Regions from separate parts of the Homo sapiens genome. Here region 2 is linked to region 1. The links are contacts of gene promoters, found by promoter capture Hi-C in human tissues and cell types (Jung and others, 2019). All regions are on one chromosome and are shown on one strand. The core of a region is centred on a gene start or on the middle of the fragment in contact, and the rest is flanking DNA. Distances in the headings are between cores, read along the strand shown.

The links. The method cuts DNA at HindIII sites, captures the fragments that hold promoters and counts their contacts. A contact is called where the count stands out against the background at its distance.
Region 2: a contact is called between a fragment that was not itself captured here and the fragment with the promoter of OASL in region 1, in 1 of the 25 tissues and cell types used here (stomach).

The regions. Positions count from the first base shown.
Region 1 is chr12:121,033,174-121,040,589 of GRCh38, forward strand. It overlaps OASL (2'-5'-oligoadenylate synthetase like), which reads right to left and starts at 6,073. Exons shown (of 6, transcript NM_003733.4): 1 at 5,601-6,073; 2 at 288-570. The coding sequence starts at 5,798. RefSeq lists enhancers at 5,237-5,738, 5,739-6,238, 5,818-6,237. The HindIII fragment of the contact is 11,669 bases long and covers 1-6,145 here.
Region 2 is chr12:121,177,461-121,184,867 of GRCh38, forward strand. It overlaps P2RX7 (purinergic receptor P2X 7), which reads left to right. Exons shown (of 13, transcript NM_002562.6): 12 at 2,894-2,995; 13 at 6,845-7,407. The coding sequence ends at 7,342. The region is part of intron 2 of LOC105370032 (a long non-coding RNA gene); the gene reads right to left. Among named protein-coding and RNA genes, the nearest start is that of P2RX4, 29 kb to the right of the region's middle. The HindIII fragment of the contact is 7,055 bases long and covers 2,265-7,407 here.

The DNA of each region.
Region 1 (7,416 bases), core at 4,823-7,322:
TTGGCCTCCCAAAGTGCTGGGATTACAGGCGTGAGCCACCGCGCCCAGGCTGCAATCATGTATTTATCTCTGCAATTCTTTGGTCAATTTCTGTATTCCAAGTTGAGCAATATGATAGCCAGAGTTGAGTTAATCCTGTGCACTGCAATAACCCAGCCCCAAGCATAGGACACAGATGAAATGAATAAATGTGGGTGTGTGCACGTGGCCATGAGTAAAGGTGAGACACTGGGAAGTCTCCTGGGGTGGGCAAGTGTGTGAGTCGGGTGAGCTTCCCCTCCCCTTACCCAGGGCTCTGTAGGCAGGCACAATGGTGACCGTGATGGGCTCCGCAGTCCCCCTGGTCTGGATGGTGAAGACGAGAGCATCGGGGACTCTCTGCTCCATCCTCAGGTCCTCGAGCCCGAGGTCCAGCAGGTCCTGGCTTTGCCACATGGTTTTCCATATCAGCCTCAGAACATCTTTGTGATGCTTGGCTGCCTCCTGGAAGCTGTGGAAACAGCTCAGAAACGCCACCAGCTCCACCTCTCTGGTGCTCCTGAGAACCGTGCCATTCCCGAAGGAGCCCACCTGCAGAACACAGAGCCCCGTCACCCTGAGGCCCACTGCCATGAGCCAGGCAACCCCTGCGGCACTTCACATGCACTGTCTCACTGAATGCTCACCACCCGCTGAGGGATGGGTTGTGGGTAGTACTAATACCCACACTTTACAGGTGAGAAAACTGAGATGTCTGGAGGATCTCGAGACATGGGATGGAGAAATGGGGCAGCCTGAAAAAGATCTTGACACTTCCCTGTTTCTTAGCTAGGTAAATGTTCTGACTCCTAAGACCTTCATCTCTAAAATGAAAGCAATGGCAGAATATGAGTCACTGGGCTACTGGGAGGATCAGATGAAATAATGTATGCCAAGGGTTTGGTGGGGTGCCTGGCACACAGGAAGTCAGCAACACATTTGTCTTTCTCCTCATTAGTCATTTGTCTCAGGTCTCGCAGTTTGCAGCCCTCAGAGCCCAGACTCTTTTTTTTTTTTTACACAGGGTTTCACTCCCGTTGCCCAGGCTGGGCTGCAGTGGCATGATCTTGGCTCAAGCAATCCTCCCACCTCAGTCTCCCAAGTAGCTAGGACTACAGGCCTGCGCCACCATGCCTGGCTAATTTTTGTATTTTTTGTAGTGACTGGGTTTTGGCATGTCGCCCAGGCTGGTCTCGAACTCCTGGACTCAAGCGATTTGCCCCCTTGGCCTCCCCAAATGCCCAGCTTCTTATCTACTACACTGCATTGCTTCTGAGACCCAGTCTTCTTACCCACAGAGTAAGGCCTACTCCAGAGGAATGGTAGCATCTACTCCATAGGGTTGTTTGAGGATTCTGGGGGTGGTGGTGGGGCTGAATAATTTCATGACATTATAAAGCAAGGAGCAAGTTTGCCTGGTGGATTTAAGAGCCATAGGCTGTGAAATGGAGCAGCCTGAAAAAGATCTTGACTCTTCCCTGTTTCTTAGCTGGGTAAACATTCTGACTCCTGAGACCCTCATCTGTAAAATGAAAGTAATGTTGGAACAAGAGTCACTGGGCTACTGGGAGGATCAGATGAAATAATGTATGCCAAGCGTTTGGTGGGGTGCCTGGCACACAGGAAGTCAGCAATACATTTCTCTTTCTTCTCATTATCCAGCTGACTTAGACAATCTCTTCTGCTGCCGGGGGGTCAGTTTTCCTGTTAGTAATGGAAGGAGGTCGAGAAGGGATTTTTCGATGTTTTGAGATTCTAGATGAGCTCTCCAGGCCCTGGTGCCTCTGGTATGCAAAGCGCCACAACTCTCTGGCCTCCTCTCCTTCTCATTCTGTGTTGGGAGGTGGAATTGCTAGGGAGGCATCAGACCCCCAGAAGGCTACTTTTCTTGGTGGTTGGAGTCACTGCACAAGAATCAGATTCCAGCTGTTGCCGGATGATATAACATGCCCTGTGTGACATGAGCACGGATGCTGGATGACATGAGCACGCCCTGTGTCTGGCACCCATAAGAGCCCTGTATACATATTATTCCTTTTAATCTTTACTTCCCAGCCAGGCATGATGGCTCATGCCTGTAATCTCAGCACTTTGGGAGGCCAAGGTGGGCGGATCATGAGGTCAGGAGTTCGAGATCAGCCTGGCCAACATGGTGAAAGCACATCTCTACTAAAAATACAAAAATTAGCCAGGTGTGGTTGTGTGCACCTGTAATCCGAGCTACTGGGGAAGCTAAGGCAGGAGAATCGCTTGAACCCAGGAGGCAGAGGTTGTGGTGAGCTGAGATCTCGCCACTACACTCCAGCCTGGGCGACACAGCGAGACTCCATCTAAACAAAACAAAACAACAAAAAAAAACGCCTTCACTTCCTGTATTGAGGTGGGTACTAGGAGAATTATCTCCAATGTACAGATGAGAAGACTGAGGCAGTGAGGAGCTTGCCATGGTCTCCCAGCCAGAAGGCAGCAGAGTCAGAGAAAGAGCCAGAACTCAAGTAGGGGATGGTTCTTCCGCCTCTTTCTTCCTCGTGACCCAAGGCTGTGAGCCAGGCCCTGCTTCCAAGGGACCATGGGCATTCAGACCCAGCACCTCCACCCCCTGGGAGAGGGTTGGAGATGGCACCCTGTGTGTGAATGAAGGACACATTCCCCCCGAAGGCCAGTCTAGACTTCCCTTTCTTTTTGAGACAGGGTCTTGCTCTGTTGCCCAGGCTGGAGTGCAATGGCACGATCTTCACTCACTGAAGCCTCGACCTCCTGGGCTTAAGCAATCCTCCCACCTCAGCCTCCGGAGTAGCTGGAACTACAGGCATGCACCGCCATGCCCAGCTAATTTTTTATATATATTTTTGTAGAGTCGGGGGTCTCACCATTTTGCCCAGGCTGGTCTCGAATTCCTGGGCTCAAGCAATCCTCCCACCTTGGCCTCCCAAAGTGCTGGGATTACAGGCGTGAGCCACTGTGCCTGGCGTAGACTTCCCTTTCTGCCTTTCCCACTGGTAAGATCCAGGCAGAGAGAAAAGAACACATCCAGAACAGGCTTCCTGATTTGCTTCAGTTTTAAACCTATTTAAGCACAATTCATTTGAAGACGAGCATTCCCTTATGTGGACCAGCTCCGCTCACTAGATTTTCAGAGGGTGGGGAACGGGAGGGTTTAGACTCTAAATAAGATATATTATTCCTCATTAGTCATGGCTCACTGGGGATTGCTACCATTTAGTGGTTTCAAGAGGAAAAGTGGCTATGATGTGCAGGAAGTATTTGAGGCTTAGGTAAATAGCATTTCCTGCCGTAAAAACTCATTCTTGGCCGGGCGTGGTGGTTCACACCTGTAATCCCAGCATTTGGGGAGGCCGAGGTGGGTGGATCACTTGAGGTCAGGAGTTCGAGACCAGCCTGGCCAACATGATGGAACCCCGTCTCTACTAAAAATGCAAAGATTAGCCAGGCGTGGTGGAACACACACACACACAATAAACTTATTCTTGTAGCATCCTCCTCTTACCAGACATTCCTTATTCCCTCCACTTTATTCTCAAGTTTGTTGGGGAGGGGGTGGTCTAGGAGGGTCTGCCAGAGTCAGACTTGAGTCCCAGGCCCAGAAGAAAGCTTGGCAAGAATTATAATGATGCTTCTGTTTCTGAGCATTTATCGTGCATGAATCATTCAGCCTGCATTGCACCACTGGCTTGGTGAGGGAGAGATGATGATGATGCCCCAATCACAGATGAAAAGAATGTGGGTTTGAGAAAGAAGAGTGGGAAGGTCAAAACCACACAGCTGGTAAAGGAAGAAGCGAAGAGTCTGTCTAATATCAAAATTTGTGGTTTCTCACTTATAAATTGTATGGCCTCAGGCTTCATATGCTGGGGATAGGTGCAAAGAACGGATAGGGGCCCAGGGCTTCTAGATCCCTCTGTGAGTTGGTTGCCCCTAGAGAGAGAACTTGAGCACTGGGCTGGGAGTCAGGGGTCCTAATTCTAGTCTTGCCTTTGCCACCAACTCGCTGTGTGACCTTGGGGTATCTCTCACCCTCTCTGTGCCTCGGTTTACTTAATTTTTTAAGTGAGTCATTGGTGAGACTGTCTGATTCTCCAAAGTCTTTCTAGCTCCGACCCTCTTGAATTTTGATCTTAGCTAGCACAGGCGGTGGCATGAAACAGCTGGAGGAAGGGCTTGGGGGAAAATCTCAGTGAGGGGGGCTTGGGTCCCTTGAGTCAAGTTCAAATCCCAGCTTCAACACTGTGTGACCTTGGGCAAGTCACCTCACCTCTCTGAGCCTCCATTAAAAAATCATTTTAGGCCGAGTGCAGTGGCTCACTGTAATCCCAGCACTTTGGGAGGCCGAGGAGGGCAGATCATGAGGTCAGGAGATCGAGACCATCCTAGCCAACACGGTGAAACCCTGTCTCTACTAAAATACAAAAAATTAGCCGGGCGTGGTGGTGGGCGCTGTCGTCCCAGCTACTTGGGAGGCTGAGGCAGGGGAATTGCTTGAACCTGGGAGGCAGAGGTTGCAGTGAGCTGAGATCGTGCCACTGCACTCCAGCCTGGTGACAGAGCAAGACTCTGTCTCAAAAAAAAAAAAACAAAAACAAAAATCATTTTATTGGCCGGCCAGACATGGTGGCTCACACCTGTAATCCCAGCACTTTGGGAGGCCAAGGTGGGCATATTCTTGATCCCAGGAGTTCGAGACCAGCATGGGCAACATTGGTGAAACCCTATCTCTACAAAAAATACAAAAATTAGCTGAGCATGGTGGTGCATGCCTGTAATCCCAAGCTATTTAGGAGGCTGAGGATCACCTGAGCTCAGGGAGATTGAGGCTACAGTGAGTGGTGATTGTGCCACTGCACTCCAGCCTGGGTGACAGAGCGAGACCCTGTCTCTAAAAAAAAAAAAAGTCATTTTATTATCAAAAAGTTAAAACACATAGAAAAATAGATGATACAACTAACACTCATATACCCAACTAGTTGATTCAACAAGTCTAAATTCCTGGCTACATGTGCTTAATCTAAGCCACGTTAAAGTAAATTATAGGCACCAAGGAACTTTGTCCCTAAAATACTTCAGTGTTCGTGTCCAAACAAAAGACAACCTTCTGATAACCACAAAACTACTGTTACACCTAACAAAATCAACAATGATTTCCCATATCAGATATATGTACTATCTGATATCTAGGCCAGTTGTCCCCAAACTATATTTTACAGATGGTTCATTCACACTAGGATCCAACCAAGGACCTCGCATTGTATTGGTTCTGAGCCTCCATTTGCTAATCTGTAAACTGGGCAAAGAATAGTACCTATCTCACAGAGTGCAAGAATTAGAGATAGTGTATGTTAAGAGGTTAGTCCAGTGAGCCCCCAAATGTGAGCTATTATTACTAGACTCATTCTACTCAAGGCAGTGGTGCAGTGGGGTGTAGACAGCTAGGTGGGATGGGGTATTCTGAGATGTCATCAGCATGGGCTAGGGATAAGGAGGACAGGGGTCCCCAGCATCCCCAGGGACGTGGACTCTGATACTGGGTTTTGTCTTGCGTGGGGGCTGGAGGAGCCCAGTCTTACCTTGACTACCTTCAGCACCCGCACATCCTGGTCCAGCCCACGCTTCCCCTGGAAATGCTCCTGCCTCAGAAACTCCTCCACGGTCCGCACAGCGTCTAGCACCTCTTCCTTCCACTCCCGGTGGGGCTGCAGCCACTGAGCCACGAAGGAGTCCAGCCTGGAGGCTGGTGTGCTATACAGTTCCTGCATCAGTGCCATCTCTGTCCCGAGAGTACCGCTGCTGGGCAGATATATAGCCAGGCTCCTACCCAGCTCCCTGGCACACACCTCCTTTTTTAAGGTAGCTCCTCCTCAGCTGCCCTCCAGTGCTCTGTGGGAGGAGGGACCCTAGCAGAGAGGAAACCAGGTGTGACGGGCTGACTCCAGGTCCCCCTTCTTGGAGACACCCTTGCTGCAGTAGGGGCACAGGAGGACTCTGGGCTGAGGCTGGAATATCTGGGGCCACCTTAACAGGCTGGCCGTCTAGTCAATCTGTCATCAGTTTCGATTCTCAACTTTTAGAGTTCTCCTTTATGACGTTGGGAAACTGAAGTTGGATAGTGTTTGACCCCAAAGGAGGCAACTTGCCCAGTAGGTTGGGGTTGGATAGTTGTTAGTCAATTCAACTGCTTACATCTGTCTAAGGAAATTGAGGCTTGGGAACGGAAGGGACTCACTAGTGTTCAGGTGGTGGAGTGAGAATCTGGAGCCCAAGAGAACAGACTGGGAATTCTAGTCTACCTGTGCCAGACTCTAACCTCTTTGACCCTCACTATTCATAGAGTGGGTTTTTTTGTTTTTTTGTTTTTTTTTTTTTTTGGCCGGGTCTTGCTCTGTTGCCCAGGCTGGAGTGCAGTGGTGCAATCTCAGCTCACTACAACCTCTGCCTCACGGGTTCAAGCGATTCTCCTGCCTCAGCCTCCCTAGTAGCTGGGACTACAGACATGTGCCACCACGCCCGGCTAATTTTTTTTTTGTATTTTTAGTAGAGACGGGGGTCTCACCATTTTGGTCAGGCTGGTCTCAAACTCCTGACCTCAAATGATCCGCCCACCTCGGCCTCCCACAGTGCTAGGATTACAGCGTGAGCCACCGCGCCCGGCCCATAGAGTGGGTTTAACAGGTATTATGATTCACGCACTGAACCAAGAAGTTCATGCATTGAGCCAAGAAGACAAAATAAGATGAGGTTCCTGTTCCAAGGGGACTCCCAGAACGGTGGAGGAGACACAGAAAAAAGAGACTGCAAAAGTCCAGTGCGATGAGTTAAGTAGGAAAAAAGCATGAAAACATGAAGCCGGCAGATGAGTTTCATTTGGTGTTAGCAGACACCTGCTTGAGAGGAATCTTAAAGACTGGGGATCCGGGCTGGGCATGGTGGCTCATGCTTGTAGTCCCAGCACTTTGGGAGGCCAAGGTGAGAGGATCACTTGAGGCCAGGAGTTCAAGACCAGCCTGGGCAACATAGCTGGACACCTGCAACTTCCCAAACTCTGAATAATATTAAGTGCTCCAGGGCTTAGTCCTGGGTCCTTTTCTCTTCTTGTTCTAGACTTACTCCCTTGGTGATTTCAGCCAGCGTTTAAATGTTTTTACTCTGGCAACTTCCACATTTTAATTTTATTTTTATTTATTTGTTTATTTTTGAGATGGAGTCTCACTGTCTCGCCCAGGCTGGAGTTCAGTGACACAATCTCGGCTCACTGCAACCTCTGCCTCCCAGGTTCAGGCGATTCTTGTGCCTCAGCCTCCCAAGGAGCTGGGATTACAGGAGCCCGCCACCGCGCCTGGCTAACTTTTTGTATTTTTAGTAGGGACAGTGTTTCACCATGTTGCC
Region 2 (7,407 bases), core at 4,542-7,041, 140 kb after region 1:
TTCACAGGACACCAAGACATGGAGAGATTCCATGAAATCACTCAGAAATGCACGAAAATTAGGCCCAAATCACAGGCTTCATCCTGTAGTGGATACGTCGCTGGGTTCTACCCCGATCAACCAACTCTCAGATAAATTTTTTGGTCTTAGAGAAGAATGGAAACAAAAATGGAGGGGCAAGATAGAGGGAAGGCAAATTTTTATGTCTAGGACTTGCCAATTTTGTCATTTATTTATTTATTTATTTATTTATTTATTTATTTATTTATTTATTTTCAGATGGAGTCTTGCTCTATCACCCAGGCTGGAGTGCAGAGGCATGATCTCGGCTCACTGCAGCCTCTGCCTCCCAGGTTTAAGTGATTCTCCTGCCTCAACCTCCCAAGTAGCTGGGACTACAGGGGCACACCACCACACCTGGCTAATTTTTGTATTTTTAGTAGAGATGGTGTTTAGCTATGTTGGCCAGGCTGGTCTCAAACTCCTGACTTCAAATGATCCACCCACTCGGCCTCCCACAGTGCTGGGATTATAAGTGTGAGCCACTGAGCCCAGCCTGTTTTGTCATTTATTAAATTGGTATAGCCAAAAAAGAAAAAAGAAAAGAAAAATAACAACTTTGGAGAACAATTTGGCAGTGACTAATGTTTAAATGGGACATACTTTACAGCCTGGCATTTTCAGTTCTCCATACCTGCCCTAGAGAAACACTCACATGAGTACCCGCAGTACATGAGTACAAGATGTTCAAAGCAGGATTGTTTATTAAATTATCAATAATATATGATTATTAACAGTGAAGAAATAGCATCTAACCAAATATCCAACAGGTGAATGGTGAAACTATGGTAAATCCATAGAAAGGAATACCAGGCACCAGCTTAAAAAAATGAGATAGATAATAATAATGGCAAACATTTACACAGCACTTCTAAATGCTTTATCTATTAACTCAATCTTCACAACAACCTGATGTAGACAGATGCTACTATTATCTCTTTCTATATATGAGGAAATTGAGCCACAGAAAGGTTAAATAATTGGCCCAAGGCTGGGCACAGTGGCTCACGCCTATAATCCCAACACTTTGGGAGGCCGAGGCAGGCAGATCACTTGAGGTCAAGAGTTCGAGACCAGCCTGGCCAACATGGTGAAACCCCATCTCTACTAAAAATACAAAAATTAGCCAGGCGTGGTGGTGCATGCCTGAAGTCCCAGCTACTTGGGAGGCTGAGGCAGGAGAATTGCTTGAACCTGGTAGGCAGAGGTTGCAGTGAGCTGAGATCATGCCATTGCACTCCAGCCTGAGTGACAGAGGGAAACTCTGTCTCAAAAAAAAAAAAAAAAAAAAAATTATAGGACTTGACAAGAGCAGATCTCCAAGACATTTTGTTAAAAGAAAAAAAGCAAACTGTAGAACAATATATGTTATATGATATATAGGTTAAAAAAAAATCACTAGACACAGAAGCTAATCTGTATATTTTCTGCATGTATATTCTATATATACACAAGTGTACACACACACACACATACATATACATATGTGTGGGTGTATATATGTACACAAAATTGTACCAGTGGCTGCTTCTGGAAAGGAGCTTAGGGTGGGGGAGTAGGAGTAGTCAAAGAGATTTTAGCGTCATCTGTATTGTTTTGATTTGATTAATTCAGACTTTATCAAGCAGGTCCTCTGCGTTCAACTCCATGATTTTCCCCAAAGATAAATCTCTGGTACCTAAAAACAAAGACGATTGGCTAGACGTGGTGGCTCACGCCTGTAGTCCCAGTACTTTGGGAGGCCAAGGAGGGTGGATCACCTGAGGTCAGGAGTTCAAAACCAGCCTGGCCAACATGGAGAAACCCCGTCTCTACTAAAAATACAAAAAATTAGCCAGGCATGGTGGCGCATGCCTGTAATCCCAGCTTCTCTAGAGGCTGAGGCAGGAGAATCGCTTGAACCCAGGAGGTGGAGGTTGTGGTGAGCCAGGATTGCGCCATTGCACTCCAGCCTGGGCAACAAGAGCGAAACTCCGTCTCAAAAAAAAAAAAAAAACAAAGACGATTTCTTTGTCTTTCCCTCATCCAAGAACATGATTGTCCTGTTCCAGCAGCTGATGCATAATTCACTGTCCATTGTATATGCATTCACAATTTGAAATAAAAGTTCATCTTTGCAGCTAAAACTAATCACCACTTCATGGCCCAAGATGAGATGAAATTTAACAAACATGTAAATAATTTAAGTTGCAATAGTACAAATTTCTGGAGATACTGAATCTAGAGTTACTGAAATTGACAGAATACAACAAAGAAATTTTATGCAGCAACTGGGGGGTCCAATGTAAAAACATTAAGCAGTAAGCTGTGGCTGTGTTGAATTTACAAGTTAAGATGCATGGGGTTCCGCCTGGCGTGGTGGCTCACTCCTGTAATCCCAGCACTTTGGTAGGCCAAGGCGGGCGGATCAACTGAGGTCAGGAGTTCAAGACCAGCCTGACCAACATGGAGAAACCCCGTCTCTACTAAAAATACAAAATTAGCTGGGCATGATGGTGCATGCCTGTAATCCCAGCTACTCAGGAGGCTGAGGCAGGAGAATCATTTGAACCTGGGAGGCGGAGGTTGCAGTGAGCCAAGATCATGCCATTGCACTCCAGCCTGGCAACAAGAGTGAACTCCAACTCAAAAAAAAAAAAAAAAAAAAGCATGGGGTTCCATTTCTGATTTATCTTTAGACTCAGAAATCATTAATTCTTGGTTAATGAGAGTTTTGAGCCAGCTTGTTCAATAGTCTATCATTTGGCAAATAGGAATTACAGTTGCCTTTAGATAGGCAATTCTTGATAATTCTGTACAAAAATGGGTAAACTTTCAAACCATCTTTTCCTAGACATTAAAGTATGTGTCCTTTGTGGATGAATCCCACATTAGGATGGTGAACCAGCAGCTACTAGGGAGAAGTCTGCAAGATGTCAAGGGCCAAGAAGTCCCAGTAAGTTAAATCATTTTGTCTTTTTTTTTTTTTTAAGAAAATTTACTGTTAAATATAAACACATCTAGAAACTTGTACAAATCAAAACTGATGGATTTTAACAAAGTAAACATACTCATATAACCGGCACTCAGATTAAACAATTGAAAATTACTAGCAGGAGTCCCTTTTATGCCCCCCTCCAATCACTACCCTCTCTTTCTCCTTTTTTAATTTTTAAAATTTGGCTGGGCACGGTGGCTCACACCTGCAATCCCAGCACTTTGGGAGGCCAAGGTGGGTGGATCACTTGAGGTCAGGAGTTCGAGACCAACCTAGCCAACATGGTGAAACCTCGTCTCTACTAAAAATACAAAAATTAGCCGGGTGGTGTGGTGGCACACATGTAATCCCAGCTACTCAGAAGGCTGAGGCAGGAGAACTGCTTGAACCCAGGAGGTGGAGGTTGCAGTGAGCCGAGATTGTGCCATTGCACTCCAGCCTGGGTGACAGAGCAAGACTCCATCTCAAAAAAAAAAAAGAAAAAAATGTATATTCTTAAATTACAAACGAGGTCTCACTATGTTGTCCAGGCTGGTCTCAAGCAGTCCTCCCACCTCAGCTGTACCAAGCCCACCAACTGCCCTCTCTTAAAAGTAGTCATTATCCTGTTTCCAAAGATTAATTTTACTTTGGCTAGAATTTTCTAAAAACTGAATCACGTAGTATGTAAGCGGTATATACGCGGTTGAGTGTCTGGCTTCCTTTACTCAACATTATTTTTGTGAGAGTTGTTCATGATGCCATGTATAGTTCATTCTCATTGTATAATTCTGTTTTATAAATATCCAACTTATTCAGCCATCCTACTGTTGATGGACATTTGGGTAGTGTCCAGTTTGGGGCTAATGCCAATAACGCTGCTATGCTCAACATATGGCACTCTACTGGACAGTTACCTAAGAGTGGAATTGCTGAGTCATAAGGCAGACATATGTTCGGTTTTAGGAGATACTAACAAACGGTGCTGAAAAATGGTTGTTCACATTTGCACTCTCCCCAGCAGTTCTGGTTGCTGGGCATCTTCAATTTCCTAGGGCTGAATTACCACAAACTAAGTGGCTTAAAACAACAGAAATGGCCAGGCATGGTGGCTCATGCCTGTAATCTCAGCACTTTGGGAGGCTGAGGCAGGCAGATCACCTGAGGTCAGGAGTTTGAGACCAGCCTGACCAACATGGAGAAACCCCATCTCTACTAAAAATACAAAAAAATAGCCAGGCATGGTGGCGGGCGACTGTAGTCCCAGCCACTCAGGAGGCTGAGGCAGGAGAATGGCATGAACCTGGGAGGCAGAGCTTGCAGTGAGCCAAGATTGCACCACTTTGAGAGGCCAAGGTGGGCGGATCACCTGAGGTCAGGAGTTCAGGAACAGCCTGGCCAACATGGCGAAACCCTGTCTCTATTAAAAATACAAAAATTAGCCAGGCGTGGTGGTGCACACCTGTAATCCCAGCTACTCAGGACGCTGAGGTGGGAGAATTGCTTGAACCTGGGAGGCAGAGGCTGCGGTTAGCTGAGATCACACCTCTGCACTCTAGCCTGGGCAACAGAACAAGCTCCATCTAAAAAAAAAAAAAAAAAAGTCTTTTCTGCTCCTTTTGAAATATCAGTGAGTTTTCTTCTTTTTTTCTGTTAGTTGAATTGTACTGATTGATTTTCAAATATTAAGCCAAACTTGCATTCCTGAAGTAAACTCAATTTGAATGTGTTGTACTATTCTTTGTATTTATTGCTGAATTCCATTCACTAATATTTAGGATTTTTACATCTCTTCTTGAGAAAGACTGACCAAAGTGTTTCCATTCTTGTAATGTTCTTGTTGGATTTGTGTATGAAGTGAACTACAGTCATGCATCACTTAATGATGGGGATATGTTCTGAAAAACGCATCAGTAGCTGATTCTGTGGTTGTCTGAATATCATGGACTCTATTTACACAAACCTAAATAGAATAGCCTATTATACTTAGGTTATATGGTGTAGTCTATTGCTCCTAGGCTGCAAACCTGTACAGCATGTTACTGTACTGAATACGGTAAGCAACTGTAACAGAATGGTAAGATTTGTATATCTAAATATAGAAAAGGTACAGTGAAAATATGATATAAAAGCTTAAAAATGGTACATCTGCATAGGGCACTTACCATGAATGGAGCTTGTAGGACTGAAAGTTGCTCTGGGTGAGTCAGTGAGTAGTGAGTGAATGTGAAAGCCTAGGTTGTTACCGTGCACTACAGTAGACTTCATAAACACTGTACACTTAGGCTACACTAAATTTACTTCAAAATATTTATCTTTCTTCAATAATAAATTAATCTTAGCTTACTGTGACTGTTTTACTTTATAAATTTTTAAATTTTTTAAACTCTGTACAGTGGTATAAAAATATTTTCTTTCTCACCGGGAGTGGTGGCTCATGCCTGTAATCCCATCACTTTGGGAGGCCGAGGCAGGCGGATCACAAGATCAGGAGATTGAGACCATCCTGGCCAACATGGTGAAACCCCATCTCTACTAAAAATACAAAAAAATAGCCAGGCATGGTGGCAGGCGCCTGTAGTCCCAGCTACTCGGGAGGCTGAGGCAGGAGAATGGCGTGAACCCAGGAGGCAGAGCTTGCAGTGAGCCAAGATCACACCACTGCACTCCAGCCTGGGCGACAGAGCAAGACTCCATCTCAAAAAAAAAAAAATTCTTTCTCTATATCCTTATTCTATATACTTTTTTCTATTTTTAACATTTTTTATTTTTATTTTTACTTTTTAAATATTTTTGTTAAAAACTAAGTCATGGCCGGGTGCAGTGGCTCACGCTTGTAATCTCAGTACTTTGGGAGGCTGAGGTGGGTGGATCACTCGAGGTCAGGAGTTCAACACCAGCCTGGCCAATATGGTGAAACTCTGTCTCTACTAAAAATATAAAAATTAGCCGGGTGTGGTGGTGCGCGCCTGTAGTCCCAGCTACTCAGGAGGCTGAGGCAGAAGAATCGCTTGAACCCAGGAGGCGGAGGTTGCAGTAAGCCAAGATCATGCCACTGCACTCCAGCCTGGGAGACAGAGCAAGACTCCATCTCAAAAAAAAAAAACAACAAATACACACACACACACACACACACAAAAACCATTTCCAATAGTGCTAAGTCCTATGAAGAATGTGGAATACCACAGTGTGATAAGGGAATCATGTGGGAGAAAAGCTGCTAGATAGGGTGGTCAGGACAAGAGGTGACATCTCAACAGAGGCCTGGCTTTTCTGAATTTCATTTTCCAAAATCTGTAAAATAGGCCAGGTGCAGTGGCTCATGCCTGTAATCCCAGCACTTTGAGAGGCTGAGGCAGGTGGATCACCTGAGGTCAGGAGTTCCAAACCAGCCTGGCCAACATGTTGAAATCCTGTTTCTACTAGAAATACGAAAGAATTAGCTGGGCATGGTGGCATGCACCTGTAATACCAGCTACTTAGGAGGTTAAGGCATGAAAATTGTCTGAACCTGGGAGGTGAAAGTTGCAGTGAGCCAAGATCACACCACTGTGCTCCAGCCTGTGCGACAGAGTGAGACCCTCTCTCAAAAAAAAAAAAAAAATCTGTAAAATAAAGACAAGGATACATTATCTCACAAGCGTCTTCAAAGGCCTGAATGAGGCAATGCTTACAGAACACATGCATGGTCCTGATATCTACACCTAATAAATGACGGCTACTATAAATCATGTAATATTAAACGTAACTTTATAAGTTAATAAAATTAAAGAACCTAGAACCTGAGGGCTTGTCATGGCTAATAGGTTTGGAAACTTGCTTTTTCAGAGACCTGCGATGGACTTCACAGATTTGTCCAGGCTGCCCCTGGCCCTCCATGACACACCCCCGATTCCTGGACAACCAGAGGAGATACAGCTGCTTAGAAAGGAGGCGACTCCTAGATCCAGGGATAGCCCCGTCTGGTGCCAGTGTGGAAGCTGCCTCCCATCTCAACTCCCTGAGAGCCACAGGTGCCTGGAGGAGCTGTGCTGCCGGAAAAAGCCGGGGGCCTGCATCACCACCTCAGAGCTGTTCAGGAAGCTGGTCCTGTCCAGACACGTCCTGCAGTTCCTCCTGCTCTACCAGGAGCCCTTGCTGGCGCTGGATGTGGATTCCACCAACAGCCGGCTGCGGCACTGTGCCTACAGGTGCTACGCCACCTGGCGCTTCGGCTCCCAGGACATGGCTGACTTTGCCATCCTGCCCAGCTGCTGCCGCTGGAGGATCCGGAAAGAGTTTCCGAAGAGTGAAGGGCAGTACAGTGGCTTCAAGAGTCCTTACTGAAGCCAGGCACCGTGGCTCACGTCTGTAATCCCAGCGCTTTGGGAGGCCGAGGCAGGCAGATCACC